2 separate regions of the Homo sapiens genome follow, and region 1 is linked to region 2. The links are contacts of gene promoters, found by promoter capture Hi-C in blood cells and fetal thymus (Javierre and others, 2016). All regions are on one chromosome and are shown on one strand. Each heading gives the region's core, a stretch centred on a gene start or on the middle of the fragment in contact. The rest is flanking DNA. Distances are from core to core; before and after follow the strand shown.

Region 1 (6,334 bases), core at 1,231-3,730, 540 kb after region 2:
ATGTAAAAGCTTTCTCTAAGGACTCTTGGATGAAAAGAGAAAGATAAAATGAAATTATAAAATTTCTAAAACATATTGATAATTAAAACACAGTGTATCAGAATATATGAGATATTTGAAATATGATTATTTAAAGCAGTAACCATAGGGAAATTCATAGCCTTAATCACATTTACCAATAAAAATCAAAGATTTTAAATAAATGAATTAAATTCCCAGCTCAGAAAGCCAGAAAAAAAAAGAAAGAAAACACAACAAAAGAAAAATTGAAGCTAAAAGAAATTAGTGTGACAGGAAAAAAAAAATAGATCTAGTTAGATCTATTTCAAATCAAATTCCTGGTGTTTAAAGTTAATTGGCCAGGCGCGGTGGCTCACGCCTGTAATCCCAGCACTTTGGGAGGCTGAGGCAGGCAGATCACGAAGTCAGGAGTTTGAGACCAGCTTGGCCAACATAGTGAAATCCCGTCTCTTCTAAAAATACAAAAATTAGCCAGGTGTGGTGGCATGTGCCTGTAGTCTCAGCTACTCAGGAGGCTGAGGCAGAAGAATCGCTTGAACCCGGGAGGCGGAGGTTGCAGTGAGCTGAGACCACGCCATTGCACTCCAGCCTGGGTGACAGAGTGAGACTCCATCTCAAAAAAAAAAAAAAAAAAAAAGATAATTAACAAAATAAACAAGCCATTAGCTAACTTAAGAAAAAAAAGAAGAAGGAATTCAAAAATACAAAATAAGAAATAAGGAGAAATAACTATTGAAACAAGAGAAAATAAATCACAAGAGGCTATTTTGAAAACTGTGCAAATAAATTTGAAAAATTAGGTGAAATGGATAACGTCCTGAGGAAATACAGTTAGCCAAAATTGACTTGTTGAAATTTACATAGCTTAAACAGATTAGTATCTATAGAATATGTGGAGGAAGTTATCAAGGAACTATCCTCCAAAATGCACGAGACCTAGATCATTTCAGAGAGAAATTCTACCAAAACTTCAAAGATAAGGTAATCTCTACATTGTTCCGGAGCAAATGAAGGATATTTTCCTAATTATTTTTGTGAAGCAAGTATAATATTGATTCCTGAACTTGTTACAGAGCAGAAAAAAATAAAATTACAAACCAATATTATGTATGAAAATTGATGCAAAATTTTAAAATAAACTGTTTATAAACAGAATTCAACACCGCATTAAGAAAATAATACACCATGGCCAAGTGGCAATTATTCCAGCAATTCAAAGTTGATTTGCTGAAAACCCAGCAAATTAGGAATATTAGGAAACCCATTAATGCAATTAATACACCATATTAGTAGATTTGAGGAGAAAAATCATGTAATTGTCTCCATAGAGGCTATAAAACCTTTTATAATATTTAACATCTTCTGAGAGTACAAAAAACTCAAACTGGTCTTCCTCCACTCTCATACTACAATCAACACAGAAGACTTCCATGACCAAATGTGTGGGGATTTCTCCACACAGCAAGCAAGCAATCAAATCTACAGCAGACACAAGCTGAGTATGCTTCAATTCAGTTCTAACAGCATCCACCTGGAGATAGGGTCAGATCCCACAGTTGGGTCAGTTCTATAAGACTGCTCCCACTTCCAATGCCAGTAGCAAGCCCCAGGTTGTTTTGCCCATGCTTCTAACTGACTGACTATAAAACAGGCATCGTATGACCTCTCCTTGGGTTTGATTAATTTGCTAGAGTGGCTCATAGAACTTACTTATGTTTTTCCAGTTTATTATAAAGAATATTACAGGCTGGGCGTGGTGGCTCACACCTGTAAATCCCAGCACTTTGGGAGGCCGAGGTGGGAGGATTGCTTGAGGCCAACAGTTTGAGATCAGCCTAGACAACATAGTGAGAACCCCTATCTCTACAAAAAGTAGAAATAAAAAAATTAGCCGAGTGTGTTGGTGCATGCCAAAAACAAAAAAAGGATAGTACAAAGAATTACAGAATGGCAAGGGGAGCAGAGCTTCCATGCCTTCCCTGGGCACTGAAACCGCCACATATTCAGCTATCCACAAGATATCTGAACCCAGTCCCTTTGGAGTTTTATGGAGGCTTTATTACATAGGCATGATTGATTAAACCACTGGCCACTGGTGATCAACTCAACCTTCAGCATCTCCCCTCCCTGGAGATTGGGCAGTGGGGCTGAAAATCCCAACTCTCTAATCCTGCATTGGTCTTTTTGGTGACCAGCCCCCACCTGAAGCTACCTAGGAGTTGCCTGCCATCAGTCAACCCAATAGCATAAAAAAGACACATCACTTTGGAAATTCCAAGAATTTTAGAAGTTGTATGCCAGGAAATGGGTCAAACACCAAATATGTACCTTAAAATATCACAACATTCATCATCCATTCCTGGTTAAAAAAAAAAGGAAGAAAAAAGAAATTAATCGATACCTTTATATATATATAGTCAGACTCAGATATCCGACTAGGTCAGGCAGACCCTGGCAGTATATGGCAACATTGCAGGAGATGCAAACTCCAGCTTTGGGTATTTTATTTTATTTTATTTTATTTTATTTTATTTTATTTTATTTTATTTATTTATTTATTTATTATTATTATACTTTAAGTTTTAGGGTACATGTGCACAATGTGCAGGTTAGTTACATATGTATGCATGTGCCATGGTGGTGCGCTGCACCCACTAACTCGTCATCTAGCATTAGGTATATCTCCCAATGCTATCCCTCCCCCCTCCCCCCACCCTACAACAGTCCCCAGAGTGTGATGTTCCCCTTCCTGTGTCCATGTGTTCTCATTGTTCAACTCCCACCCATGAGTGAGAATATGCGGTTTTTGGTTTTTTGTTCTTGCGATAGTTTACTGAGAATGATGATTTCCAATTTCATGCATGTCCCTACAAAGGACATGAACTCATCATTTTGTATGGCTGAATAGTATTCCATGGTGTATATGTGCCACATTTTCTTAATCCAGTCTATCATTGTTGGACGTGTGGGTTGGTTCCAAGTCTTTGCTATTGTGAATAATGCCGCAATAAACATACATGTGCATGTGTCTTTATAGCAGCATGATTTATAGTCCTTTGGGTATATACCCAGTAATGGGATGGCTGGGTCAAATGGTATTTCTAGTTCTAGATCCCTGAGGAATCGCCACACTGACTTCCACAATGGTTGAACTAGTTTACAGTCCCACCAACAGTGTAAAAGTGTTCCTATTTCTCCATATCCTCTCCAGCACCTGTTATTTCCTGACTTTTTAATGATTGCCATTCTAACTGGTGTGAAATGGTATCTCATTGTGGTTTTGATTTGCATTTCTCTGATGGCCAGTGATGGTGAGCATTTTTTCATGTGTTTTTTGGCTGCATAAATGTCTTCTTTTGAGAAGTGTCTGTTCATGTCCTTTGCCCACTTTTTGATGGGGTTGTTTGTTTTTTTCTTGTAAATTTGTTTGAGTTCATTGTAGATTCTGGATATTAGCCCTTTGTCAGATGAGTAGGTTGTGAAAATTTTCTCCCATTTTGTAGGTTGCCTGTTCACTCTGATGGTAGTTTCTTTTGCTGTGCAGAAGCTCTTTAGTTTAATTAGATCCCATTTGTCAATTTTGGCTTTTGTTGCCATTGCTTTTGGTGTTTTAGACATGAAGTCCTTGCCCATGCCTATGTCCTGAATGGTAATGCCTAGGTTTTCTTCTAGGGTTTTTATGGTTTTAGGTCTAACGTTTAAGTCTTTAACCCATCTTGAATTAATTTTTGTATAAGGTGTAAGGAAAGGATCCAGTTTCAGCTTTCTACATATGGCTAGCCAGTTTTCCCAGCACCATTTATTAAATAGGGAATCCTTTCCCCATTGCTTGTTTTTGTCAGGTTTGTCACAGATCAGATAGTTGTAGATATGCGGCGTTATTTCTGAGGGCTCTGTTCTGTTCCATTGATCTATATCTCTGTTTTGGTACCAGTACCATGCTTTTTTGGTTATTGTAGCCTTGTAGTATAGTTTGAAGTCAAGTAGTGTGACGCCTCCAGCTTTGTTCTTTTGGCTTAGGATTGACTTGGCGATGCGGGCTCTTTTTTGGTTCCATATGAACTTTAAAGTAGTTTTTTCCAATTCTGTGAAGAAAGTCATTGGTAGCTTGATGGGGATGGCACTGAATCTGTAAATTACCTTGGGCAGTATGGCCATTTTCACGATATTGATTCTTCCTACCCATGAGCATGGAATGTTCTTCCATTTGTTTGTATCCTCTTTTATTTCCTTGAGCAGTGGTTTTTAGTTCTCCTTGAAGAGGTCCTTCACATCCCTTGTAAGTTGGATTTCTAGGTATTTTATTCTCTTTGAAGCAATTGTGAATGGGAGTTCACTCATGATTTGGCTCTCTGTTTGTCTGTTGGTGTATAAGAATGCTTGTGATTTTTGTACATTGATTTTGTATCCTGAGACTTTGCTGAAGTTGCTTATCAGCTTAAGGAGATTTTGGGCTGAGACAATGGGGTTTTCTAGATATACAATCATGTCGTCTGCAAACAGGTACAATTTGACTTCCTCTTTTCCTAATTGAATGCCCTTTATTTCCTTCTCCTGCCTCATTGCCCTGGCCAGAACTTCCAACACTATGTTGAATAGGAGTGGTGAGAGAGGGCATCCCTGTCTTGTGCCAGTTTTCAAAGGGAATGCTTCCAGTTTTTGCCCATTCAGTATGATATTGGCTGTGGGTTTGTCATAGATAGCTCTTATTATTTTGAGATATGTCCCATCAATACCTAATTTATTGAGAGTTTTTAGCATGAAGGGTTGTTGAATTTTGTCAAAGGCCTTTTCTGCATCTGTTGAGATAATCATGTGGTTTTTATCTTTGGTTCTGTTTATATGCTGGATTACATTTATTGATTTGCGTATATTGAACCAGGCTTGCATCCCAGGGATGAAGCCCACTTGATCATGGTGGATAAGCTTTTTGATGTGCTGCTGGATTCAGTTTGCCAGTATTTTATTGAGGATTTTTGCATCAATGTTCATCAAGGATATTGGTCTAAAATTCTCTTTTTTGGTTGTGTCTCTGCCCGGCTTTGGTATCAGGATGATGCTGGCCTCATAAAATGAGTTAGGGAGGATTTACTCTTTTTCTATTGAGTGGAATAGTTTCAAAAGGAATGGTACCAGTTCCTCCTTGTACCTGTGGTAGAATTTGGCTGTGAATCCATCTGGTCCTGGACTCTTTTTGGTTGGTAAGCTATTGATTATTGCCACAATTTCAGCTCCTATTATTGGTCTATTCAGAGATTCAACTTCTTCCTGGTTTAGTCCTGGGAGAGTGTATATGTCAAGGAATTTATCCATTTCTTCTAGATTTTCTAGTTTATTTGCATAGAGGTGTTTGTAGTATTCTCTTATGGTAGTTTGTATTTCTGTGGAATTGGTGGTGATATCCCCTTTATCATTTTTTATTGCTCCTATTTGATTCTTCTCTCTTTTTTTCTTTATTAGTCTTGCTAGCGGTCTATCAATTTTGTTGATCCTTTCAAAAAACCAGCTCCTGGATTCGTTAATTTTTTGAAGGGTTTTTTGTGTCTCTATTTCCTTCAGTTCTGCTCTGATCTTAGTTATTTCTTGCCTTCTGCTAGCTTTTGAATATGTTTGCTCTTGCTTTTCTAGTTCTTTTAATTGTGATGTTAGGGTGTCAATTTTGGATCTTTCCTGCTTTCTCTTGTGGGCATTTAGTGCTATAAATTTCCCTCTACACACTGCTTTGAATGTGTCCCAGAGATTCTGGTATGTTGTGTCTTTGTTCTCGTTGGTTTCAAAGAACATCTTTATTTCTGCCTTCATTTCGTTATGTACCCAGTAGTCATTCAGGAGCAGGTTGTTCAGTTTCCATGTAGTTGAGTGGTTTTGAGTGAGATTCTTAATCCTGAGTTCCAGTTTGATTGCACTGTGGTCTGAGAGATAGTTTGTTATAATTTCTGTTCTTTTACATTTGCTGAGGAGAGCTTTACTTCCAACTATGTGGTCAATTTTGGAATAGGTGTGGTGTGGTGCTGAAAAAAATGTATATTCTGTTGATTTGGGGTGGAGAGTTCTGTAGATGTCTATTAGGTCTGCTTGGTGCAGAGCTGAGTTCAATTCCTGGGTATCCTTGTTGACTTTCTGTCTCGTTGATCTGTCTAATGTTGACAGTGGGGTGTTAAAGTCTCCCATTATTAATGTGTGGGAGTCTAAGTCTCCTTATAGGTCACTCAGGACTTGCTTTATGAATCTGGGTGCTCCTGTATTGGGTGCATATATATTTAGGATAGTTAGCTCTTCTTGTTGAATTGATCCCTTTACCATTAAGTAATGG
Region 2 (5,822 bases), core at 2,294-4,793:
AGGGTGCCTGCAGGATTCTTCCATAAGGAGACATTTGTACCCAGACCGAAGGGGAAGGGAGGGAGCAAAGGTTGTGGTATCTGGGGGAAGAGCCCTCCAGAAGACAAAGACCCTGAGATGGGAGCATACTGATGGGGCCTGCAGGGACAGCAGCCGGGGCAGGGAGATCAATGGAATGGGGAGTGAACCAGGCTGTGTAGGGCAGAATATGGGGTCTTGTAGGCCACTGAAAGCATTTTTCTATTTTTAAATTCTGAGTGAGACCTGATGCGATTAAGGGATAGGGCACAAGACAGTTACTAACAAGAGGCACTAGGATGCTAAAGACTCATGGAGACTAGGCTGTAAGGGACAAAGTCCAGACGTGGGGAGCCATTAGGGGCTGTTGCCCATCCTGAAAGATGATAGAGGCTTGCGGGGGATGGGGAGGGAGGTGACAGGAAATGGCTGGATTCTGGATATAATTGAAGGCAGAATCCACTGGATTTGCTGGGAGATGAAGAGTGGGGTTTTTCCTGAGCAGTGGAGTAGATAATGGCTCTATAATCAGAGAAGGTTTTCGGCAGATGCGTTTCAGTTATCTACTGCTGAGTGACAAACAAACCAACCATCCTGCACTTAGTGGCATGAAACATCAGCAATCATTTGATTTGCTCACCAGTTGCAGCCTGGGCAGGGTTCGATGGGGACGGCTGCAGGTGAGATTAGTTAGGGCAGCTCAAAGGTTGGCTGGAGCCATCTGAGGCTTGTTACTCACACGTCTGGCTGTGGATGCTGGCTGTCAGCTGGGCCGTCAGCTGCGATGTCAGCCAGAACTCCTGCACCTCCTCGTGTTGGGGTTCACTCCCTCATGGCATGGCGGCTGGGCTCCAAAAGTGGCCTCCCAAGAAAACAAGATATGAAGCAGGTGACATTTTCATGCCTTTGCCTCAGAACTCCCATAGTCTCATTTCTGCTGTCCTTTATTGCTTGAAGGAGTCACGAAGATTGGTCCGAGTTCAAAGGAAGGAGACACGGACCCTGGCCCTGGATGGGAGGGTGTCGATGTCACATTGTAGAAGAACATGTGGGATAGGAGGTATTGTGCCCATCTTTGGTCAATGTCGTCTGCCACGTGAAGGATGCAGAAATCAAGATTTGTAGAGCATAAGCTGCTTGTTAACTATCACAGAGGGATGTTGAGTTGGCAGATGGATGTATGAGTCAAGAGAGGTCAAGGTTGGGGAAATACACGTTGGAGGCTTTATTATACAGTTGATATTTAAAGCCACCTGGAATGAGGAGAGACGTGGTGGTGGGAGGAGGAGGAGGAGAGGAAGGAGGATCAGGATAAGAGAGAGTTTATTAAGCATTGCATTTTTTTTTTTTGAGATGGAGTCTCGCGTTGTCACCCAGGCTGGAGTGCAATGGCGCCATCTTGCCCCACTGCAACGTCCGCCTCCCAGGTTCAAGCGATTCTCCTGCCTCAGCCTCCCCAGTAGCTGGGATTATAAGCACATGCTGCCATGCACAGCTAATTTTTTGTATTTTAGTAGAGACGAGGTTTCACCGTGTTGCCCAAGCTGGTCTCGAACTCCTGAGCTCAGGCAATCCACCTGCCTCAGCCTCCCAAAGTGCTAGGACTACAGATGTGAGCCACCGTGCCCAGCCACATTGCATAATTTTTATTGAGTAGCTCTATACTTAGCCTCGTGGGAGGTACTTTGCACAGCTTAGAGCAAGATGAAGGCCTCCCTGCCCCAGCCCCAGCCCACAGTGAAGCAGGCCTCACTCTGTACCACCATAGAACTCGGCTCAGTTTCTGACTCTGTATTTTTCTCTTGCTCCCCGTGCCCCTGGTGCTGGAGCGCTTAATTAGATCTAACAAGGTCTCTTTTGTCCTTGTGCTTTGGAGTGTCTTCAGGCTTTCCCTGGATAATGATAGCCAAAAGTATTCAGAGTTTTAGAAAACCTAAAACCTAAAACCTTCAAAAGGGCAATGTTGAGAAATAAAGAAATGAATTATTCCATTGTTAAGCAACTCATGTCTGAGTAAGAGAAAACTTGAATTTATGGTGGTTAAAGTATATGTGAGATATTAAAAACAAAAGAGAGAGAGAAAGAAAAAAAACCCAGAAAGCCATTTTTTGATCCTCAAGAGATCAGATGAAGTTTCTATGTGAAGCATTGAGAGATCTTTATTTTATGATAAGGCTAAATGCCAGATTGTCAAAAAAAGGGTCAAATATAAACTTCTTTGCATAATACGTAAATCCATTAATAATCTGACCCTTTCTTTTCCAATCTCCTCTACTAGCAACCTCCAGTATATTCTGGTTACCCTGCTCCAAAAATGCTCTAAACATGCCATGCCTGTGTACTACTTCCCCATGGTTTATTCTCCCTCTCCATTTCTGGCCAACTCCTACTCATCCTTTAAAACTCAGCTTGAATGTCATCTCCTCTACAAAGCAGGTGGTTGTAGTCACCTCTATTAGTGTTCCCATCTTTTGTATATACTTCCTATGATTCTGATCACATTCTGCTTAATATCTTATCACATCCTGTCATGTATATGCTCATCTCCTCTAGCAGTCAGTTTTTTAAGGGCAGTAAACCTGGGTGCTTTTTTGTTTTTTGCAGTCCCAGTCCCAGCAGTGCTGAGCAACAGAAGAGATAAACACCACAGTTTTTAGGAAGTTCAGTTGCATAAGAGATGACAGTAGAGGCCCCTGCATGTCTATTGCAGACAATTACTTACGGGCTCACAAAAGAATATTCTCTGGTTTTGCCCAGTGGGATGCACTGTCCTACAAAGGCTGAAGATTTTGGGGAGGCAACAGACACACCAAACAGACTTCCTTTTCTATATCTTTCAGTTGCTGACACTATTAAGAAATAGAGACTGGGCATGGTGGCTCACACGTGTAATCCCAACACTTTGGGAGGCCGAGGTGGAGGATTGCTTATGACCAGGAGTTTGAGACCAGCTGGGCAACATAGTGAGACCCCATCTCTACCACATACACACACACACACACACACACACGCAAATTAGCTGGGCGTGGTGGCAAGCCCCTGTAGTCCCAGCTACTCAGGAGGCTGAGGTGGGAGGATCACTTGAGCCTGGGATGTTGAGGCTGCAGTGAATCATGATTGCACCATCGCATTCTAGCCTGGGAGACAGAGCAAGACCTTGTCTCAGGAAGGAAGGAAGGAAGGAAGGGGAGAGAGAGAGAGAAAGAAAGAAAGAAGGAAAGAAAGGAAGAAAGAGAGAAAGAGAGAGAGGAAGGAAGGAAAGAAAGAAAGAAAAGGAAGTAGAGAAAGAAAGGAAGGCAGGCAGGCAGGCAGGAAGGAGGAATTCCCTTCTGATTTGGTAGGAATTAGAAGATTCCTCTACTCTATCATTGTCATTGTAAAACATCTCTAGAGTAGTTGTTTGAGGCACACAAACTCCTTTCCAACATGATATTACAATACCCAGATTTCTGGTGTCAAGCCACATGTCAGTATGAACGGTCCTGCACAGATGACGTGTTCAACTTTCATGGTTGTCTCTACCTTCCATTCCAGCCTGCTCCGCCTCCTGGATTTTCCAGAAACCTCTGGCTTCTCCCTTCTTCCTCAGGGGTGTGTGGCTCTCTGGTGGGGAATTATCAACCAACATAGTGGGAGATGCTGAAGCCCGAGCGATGAGCAAAGTGAACACAGAGCACTGGGAAGCTGAGGTGCAGATGCACGAAGGGAAGAAGCTGGGAAGAAGCTGGAGGAAAGGAGTGAAGGAAATAGGATGATGGAGCCAAAACTGGGACTAGGGAGGCCAGACCTGGGAAAGAAGGTGGGAGCTGAAGTGGGGATCCTGAGGATGTTAACTGAAAAACCACGAGATCTATAAGCAACTCTTTAACCGAAAGGAGAGACTCTGCTGGTAGAAGTTTACCTGTTGGGGGTGACTCAGGCAGAGCTAAGCTAGCCCTGCAATGACTCCAAATGATCCTGCAAGGTGGGGGCAGACACAGGAGAGGAAAACAGCCCCATCCTGGCCTGCTGGTCAAAGCACACACGTGTGCTCTCTTCTCTCCCTCCCTCTCTGCTCTGTCTCTCTCTCTCCCTCCTTTTCTCTCTGTTTCTGTCTTTCTCTCTCTGTACCTTGGCAGCTAACCTGGCATTCTGAACTCCACCCCCAACCCTGTCGGTGCCTCTTTTGACCCTGAGTAGCTCTTTTCTCTCTTTCCCTACTTCCTACTTCTTACCACTGCCTGGAGAGGTTATTCTTAGCCACTTGCTGAACAGTTACTTGTTTCATTTAAACAAACAAAAAAGAAACAAAACCTGCCTAATGTGGCAGTAGACTTGAATTTAAAGAAAATGTATTTCAAACTGGGAAGAAGAGAAAAATTTTTTCTTAAATGCAACTTATTTTCATTGATTCTGAAAGCAATACATATTTATTGTAGAGAGAAATTGGATTGTACAGAGAAGCACAAAGAATAAAATTATAGTTATCCATTATTCCATGGTCAGAGATAACTGGAATTAACATAAGGATATTGCTTTGGCTTGAATGTTTGTGTCTTTTCCAAAATTCATGCTGAGGCCGGGCGCGGTGGCTCACCCCTGTAATCCCAGCACTTTGTGAGGCTGAGGCAGGTGGATTGCCTGAGCTCAGGAGTTCTAGACCAGCCTGGCCAACATGGTGAAACCCCAACTCTACTAAAAATACAAAAAATTAGCCAGGCGTGGCGGTGCATGCCTGTAATCCCAGCTACTCAGGAGGCTGAGGCACAAGAATCGTTTGAACCTGGGAGGCGGAGGTTGCAGTGAGCTGAGATTGCACCACTGCACTCCAGCCTGGGTGACAGAACGAGACTCTGTCACAAACAAACAAACAAAACCAAAATTCGAGTTGAAAGATAATCCCCAATGTAACAGTATTAAGAAAGAGGTGAGGTCTTTAGGAGGTGATTAGACCGTGAGGACTCTGCTCGCATGATTGGATTAATGCCTCATAAAAGGACTTGAGGGAGCCAGTTCAGCCCCTTCTTCTCTTCCACCAAGTGAAGACTCAGGGTTTGTCTTCTCCCTCAGCAACAGGGTGCCATCACAGAAGCAGAGAGCAGCCCTCAGCAGACATCAGACATGCTGGTGCCTTGATCTTGGGCTTCCCAGTCTCCACAACTGTGACAAATACACTTCTATTGTTGATAAATTACCCAGTCTGTGATATTTTGTTACAGCAGCACAGACTAAAACAGAAATATATGCTTTTTAGCCTTCTACACACACACACACACACACACACACACACACATTATTGGGATATAGTGTATGTATTGTTTCATAATCTACTTCTTTCACATGAACACTTTATGGTGAATGTTTTTCCATGCTAATATTTTTTCCATAAAGATATTTTAAATCATGACATAGTATTCTATTTGAACATATCAAAACATTTAATCTACTATTATTGGACATTTAAGATATTTCAAAAAAAATTTTCTTTTTGCTACTAGCAATAGATTTGTCTTTTTTTTTTTTTTTCTTGAGACAGGGTCTCACTCTGTCACCCAGGCTGGAGTGCAGTGGTGTGATTTTGGCTCACTGCAACCTCCACTTCTGGGGTTCAAGTGATCCTCCCCCCTCAGCCTCCTGAGTAGCAGGGACTACAGGCACACACCGCCACACTCAACTAAGTTTTGTATTATTATTATTTTAGTAGAGACGGGGTTTCACCATGTTGCCCAGGCTGGTCTCAAACTACTGGGCTCAAGCAATCCACCCACCTCAGCCTTCCAAAGTGCTGGGATTACAGGCACGAGCCACCATGCCCGACCACTAGG

What was found. Contacts are between HindIII fragments. The CHiCAGO score rates a contact against its expected background, and 5 or more counts as called.
Region 1: a contact is called between a fragment that was not itself captured here and the fragment with the promoter of TMEM78 in region 2, in 9 of 17 cell types (M2 macrophages, total CD4 T cells, total CD8 T cells and 6 more). The highest score is 9.7, in M2 macrophages.

The regions. Positions count from the first base shown.
Region 1 is chr1:228,709,065-228,715,398 of GRCh38, reverse strand. It overlaps a transcript of RHOU not described here. Among named protein-coding and RNA genes, the nearest start is that of RHOU, 23 kb to the left of the region's middle. The HindIII fragment of the contact is 4,938 bases long and covers 12-4,949 here.
Region 2 is chr1:229,247,357-229,253,178 of GRCh38, reverse strand. TMEM78 (transmembrane protein 78) reads right to left here and starts at 3,543. Exons shown (of 1, transcript NR_172940.1): 1 at 1,369-3,543. The region is part of intron 1 of LOC102723935 (a long non-coding RNA gene); the gene reads left to right. RefSeq lists an enhancer at 1-281. The HindIII fragment of the contact is 6,724 bases long and covers 1-5,822 here.